Linked DNA regions of Homo sapiens: region 1 is linked to region 2. Evidence: promoter capture Hi-C in human tissues and cell types (Jung and others, 2019). All regions are on one chromosome and are shown on one strand. Each heading gives the region's core, a stretch centred on a gene start or on the middle of the fragment in contact. The rest is flanking DNA. Distances are from core to core; before and after follow the strand shown.

Evidence for each region. Contacts are between HindIII fragments. The study calls those that stand out against the background at their distance.
Region 1: a fragment that was not itself captured here is called in contact with the fragment with the promoter of MTM1 in region 2 in 1 of the 25 tissues and cell types used here (adrenal gland).

What each region holds. Positions count from the first base shown.
Region 1 is chrX:150,096,077-150,098,776 of GRCh38, reverse strand. No RefSeq gene overlaps it. Among named protein-coding and RNA genes, the nearest start is that of MIR2114, 130 kb to the left of the region's middle. The HindIII fragment of the contact is 6,940 bases long and covers 1-2,700 here.
Region 2 is chrX:150,567,269-150,569,968 of GRCh38, reverse strand. MTM1 (myotubularin 1) reads right to left here and starts at 1,348. Exons shown (of 15, transcript NM_000252.3): 1 at 1,307-1,348. RefSeq lists a silencer at 867-1,546. The HindIII fragment of the contact is 11,680 bases long and covers 1-2,700 here.

The sequences.
Region 1 (2,700 bases), core at 190-2,689, 470 kb after region 2:
GGATTGTGTAAATCACTATAGGATGTTCACACAAGGACAAAATTGCCCAATGACACATTTCTCAGAATGTATCCCTGTATTTAAGTGAAGCATGACTGCATAACTATCTCTATTTTACAAATCAAATAAGAAAACAGGATTGGAGCAGTACAGTAACCTACTTGGGTCCATGGCTAATAAGCAGTGAGCAGAGCCAGGATTCCAACTTTGGCAGTTTGGCTTCGGAGTCTATGATTTTAACAATTGTAATAGACCACCTCTCAAAATGTTCTCTGTTACTCTGTCCTATATCCTCTGTGCCTTTGTCTTACTGCCCTGACCTCATCAACTATGCCTTGACTATCTCCTGCCCTCACCACACACCCTTCCCCCACCCCTGCTGTCCTTTCCCCTAGTCTCCATAGTCAGGGTAGCAATAGGTCATCCTGCACTGCAGTGTGGGCTCGTCCCAGATCAGTGTCTCTGGTACCCCGCTAAGGAGCCCCATAACTGTTGGGTCTTTAGGTCTCAGAGCCCCATGCCCTGTGCTGGCTCAGTGCAGGCCCCACAGGAGATAGGGGAGCTGACACTCAACCAGGCTCCACCCACTTTCCACCTAGAGGAAATTCTCTAGATCAGAGGTTCTTAAACTTCAGTGGGTCATGGAACCTCTTCTAGACTCCCATGAAAGTCATGAGTACCTGCCTATAGGGTTGTGGCAAGGGTTAAGTGAGTTAATGTACATAAAGCCCTCAGAACATGGCCTGGAACTGGGCAAGCACTCTGCACATGCTTGTTGCTACTATTCCGGCTCAGGCCAGTGAGGCTAGAGGGCAGAGCACGTGGATGAGTGCAGTAAGAGGTGAAGCTGGACCAGCAAGCTAGGGTCAGATGGGGGAGTGCTTGACTAGGCTGGGCTGAAGAGTCTGGGATTACATCTGCACATGCAGGGGCACCATCAACCATTTCTGAAGAGAGAACCAAGACACACTAACTAACTGTGGAAAGATTATACAAATATGATGGTGGGGCTAGACACGGAAGAAGGTCACTCATTTATCTAGTCAGCCAGTCATTCATTCACTGAACTCTTACCCATGCCAGGCTCATGTTAGACCTGAATGAAGAGTTTCCAGGAATGAGATGCTTCAAATTCCACATAAAGGACTGAATCTGTGCCCCAAAGTGGCTTTCGCTTCACCACTTTCTCCGAAAAAATGCAATACCCCTCTTTCAGGGAAGCCAGGGCCTAGGTGGGCACATGGGAGTGGAACCCCCAGCTGAATCTATCAGTAGTCAGGTAAGTTTGTTTGGCTAATGGCCTTGCAGGCAGAAGGAATCTGAGGTAGGCAGAATAACAGTCCCTCCCAAAGATGTCCACGTCCTAATCCTTGGAACCTGTGAATATGTGACCTTACAAGGAAAAAGGGACTTGGCAGATTTATATTTTGGATTTATACGTTGGAATGAGATCATTCTGGATTATCCAGGTGGGTCCAATGTAACCCTGGATTCAGGGTTCTTATAAGTAAAAGCAGGAGGCATAAGGGAGGGTCAGAGTAAGAGTAGGTGATGTCATGATGGAAGCAGAGTCAGAGAGAGTCAGCAAGCGTGGGGGTAATTGAAATCTGAAGATGCTATGATACTTGCCTTGAAGATGGAGGAAGGGGCCACAAACCAAGGAATGGGGGCAGCCTCTAGAAGCCAGAAAAAGCAAAGAAATGGGCTCTCTCTTAGAGACTCCAGAAGGACTGCATCCCTGCCAACACTTTGACTTTAGCCTCGTGAGACCCATTTTAGACTTCTGACCTCCAGAATTGAAAGATGATAAATGTGTGTTGCTTTAAGCCACTAAGTTTGTGGTACTTTGTTACAGCATCCACAAAAAAAAAAAAAGATACAGAATCTGGGGTTAAAAAGGAAAGGTAAAGCTACGTGTGAAATCTATTTTAGAAATAGAACCAAACCTGGTAAAAGAAAACCACAGGGAAATGAAAGCTTATTTAGCAAGTACTCTGGGGGAGTATGGATGTTAACCTGAAGGGAGATTCACTTAAATCTTTACCTCTCCCTGAACAATCTAATTTATTCCAGATGGGTTACAGAATGAGATATATGGGAAGAAACTGGTAAAAAACAGAGGGAGAACAGGATGGTGAAGGGTCTTGGAATCACGACATAAGACGAATTAATGATAAGCCCTGAGACAAGAAGATGAGGGGTCCATGGTAGCCGTATTTGGAAAGTGCATACAGAGGACAGATCCAGGACTATGTGGGTTAGACATTTTGGGGAGATAAATTTCAGCTCAGAAGAAGGAAAACTTTCCAAATGATTGGCACTGTCTGAAACTGGCACAGGTGCCTTAGGAAGAAGTGAGCAGCATGTTCCTAGAGATATTTAAACACAAAATTAATTCTTGAAAGGGGATTCCTGAACTGGACATAGGATTTTGGAACTGGTAGGCCCCTCCCAGATTTGAGGTTGTGCCAAATACCTTCTGCAGCTTTGTGAGGACAGGGCCAATCAGTGCTCTTCTTTGTCTGGACTTGAAATAAACAAAGAAATTAATATCAGTTCAGAGACCAATTCCTCTCAGCTCCCTGATACAAGAAATATCAGAGAGAACATAAAATCCATGAAGTCTGAAGTGCATCCAAGGATATCATCCCCGAACAATTCCTCAGTGCTCCTGGGAATTACAAGGAAAGGTTAACAGAT
Region 2 (2,700 bases), core at 99-2,598:
TGGTTCAAATCTCCCCCATGGTGTGGAATCTCTGAAAAGTAGATTTGATTTTGTGAAGCAGCCAAAAGCCATTCAGAATCAAATCTGGTGAATACATGATCGTGCCCAATATATATGTTGGATGAAGGCAAACGTGTCTGCAAAGTAACAGGCCTGATTGTCTTATTTGGTTGGTAAACCGATTTTGAAGGAAATTCAAAATGGTTTGCAGTCTAGCAAAATTGCTGGCTCAGTCTCAAGACTCTAAGGTGCTTATTTCACAAGGAATAATACTGAGCTGTGGTAAAAAGAATCCAGACTAGACAGACACCAAGATACCCCCAAAGAGCTGGCTTGTGATATTAGCTTTGCCATTAAGTTGCCCTGAAGCCCGGGACATATTAGTTACCCTCTCTGGGCCTCAGTTCCCCCATCCAGGAAACAAATGAACAATGTAAACTTCAGGATGCCAGTCAATTCTAAAATGCTATAATTTTATTCTTGTGAAGATCTGGTGTATCTGTTTCAAAACCAGTCGCAACCCACTTCGCCTCAAACGATGCGTGCGTCTATAAAGCTCTAATATAATTTTTGCAGCAGATTCACTTCTTACTTGCTTAGGCAAATACTAAAATTAGTTTTCACTTCCTGAGCGCAGCAAAAGACAGTTAAGGGAGGCAACCCGGCCACGGGCGCTTGCTCGTGCCTGTACATACTTCCGACTGCGTATCAGGGAACTAACCGTTCCCTCTAAGATCTTCCCTCAACTGTTGCAAAAGCAGATAAACCTCTCGTGTATGACACAGAAACACTGGCCGAGAGCGGCCATCGAGGCTTCGCGGCCAGTGCCGGGCTGCGGCCGCTCCGCAGGGCCCACCGGGGATGCGACGGACGCCCGCTCCGTGCGGAGGGCCAAGGCGAGGACCAGCCGCGGAGCGTCGCCGGGGAGGCAGGGCGGACGCCCGGCCCACTCACCGCCCCGGGACGGGGAAGCAAAGTCCAGGCAGTGGCTGAGACGTCCGCCCCCAGCTCCACGGCCAGCCAACCCCTACCCCCGTCCCGACCTTCGCCCGCCGCCGGCCGGCCACCTTGGGCGGGGAGAACGGGAGGAAGCCGGAGGTACCTGCCTGCTGCTCCCTGGCCTCAGCCCTGCCCCGCGGGGACAGCGACGGCGCTTGGACGAAACCCCCACCCAACCCTGACGGTGCGGCAAGGCCCCGCGCGACCCGCTGGCCCAAGGAGTCCCAACTTCCTCCTCCCGATCCCCTCACCACGGGTCCCCGCAGTGCCCGGCTCCGAGCCAGGCCAGCCGTGAGCGCGCACCCACCTCGGGCTCCGGGCGCCACCGCCGTTGCCAGGCTGCTCGGCTGCCGGGCCCTGCTCCGCCCCCTCTGGGGTCCGCCCCCCACGGCCTGCCCGCCCCCGGCCACCGCCCGCTGCCCGCCTCCCCGTGCCGGTTGGCGGGACTGCATCACGTGACGGGGCAGGGGGCAGGAAGAGTGCGCCGGGTCGACCTGGGGAGCAGCTCCGAAGGGCGGGGCTCTTCGCCCGAGAGGCTGCTGGGAAGCCCATTTTGAAGGGTCCGACGCATGGAGGCAGCTGGGAATTGTAGTTCGCAATATGGTGCTGGGGATGGGCGGGGCCAAGATGCCAGGGGCCATCCCTGTAAGGGAAGTTGGACTGGGCGCCGGGCGGAGGCGGCTGGGAAGCGTAGTCCCGGGACCCTTGTCTGGGTCTCCCCATTTTTCTTCAGTAAAGGGGAAATCCAGAGGGAAAACTTCTCTATACAAGACTTTAGCGGATGCCACTAAATTGAGCTATTATTGGGTACACAGGGTTGGCTGCGTAAAGTTGAGATAGTATAAGGGAAAAAGAAATTTCACTGACTCTGGGGCAGGATCTGCAATTCACAAACTCAACTAACAGCTGGGGTGTCCCTCAGCTGTGCCAGCACCTTTCCAAGAACGCAATTGAGACTTAGTGAACGGAAACATTTCAGTCCAAAATTCCTTCTACTTGTTGAGGTTTGGGTCAGACAACTATTGATACAGTAAAAAGAAAGGGACAGGAAAAAGAGAAGAAAGGCAAACTTCAAGAAGAGAATTCATTGTGTAATCAAATAAAACAAACAATCTGGGCCGGGCGCGGTGGCTCACGCCTGTAATCCTAGCACTTTGGGAGGCCAACGCAGGCGGATCACCTGAGGTCAGGAGTTCGAGACCAGCCTGGACGACATGGTGAAACCTCGTCTCTACTAAAAATACAAAAATTATCCAGGCGTGGTGGCAGGTGTCTGTAATACCAGCTGCTCGGGAAGCTGAGGCAAGAGAATCGCTTGAACCCGGGAGGGAGAGGTTGCAGTGAGCTGAGATGGCACCACTGCACTCCAGCCTGTGTGACAAAGCGAGACTGCGTGTCAAAAAAATTAAAAAAAGAAAAGACAACCTGGCACATAGAAAAATGAGCATAATATTCTTTGTACTGCATAATACTTATACGCGAGCAGTTCGAGTAAATAGGATGACTTTATCATGACCTGTTTTTTTTCTCTTGTATGTGTTAGTTCTCCAGCATCTAAAAACAGCATTTTACCTGATACCAGTGTATATGTGTACGTGTGTTTCTACATAGTCACACACATATACACATATATTCATATATCATTTATATATGCATATATATATGCTTTATTGAAGAGTCTAGACTTCTTAGAAGAGTAAC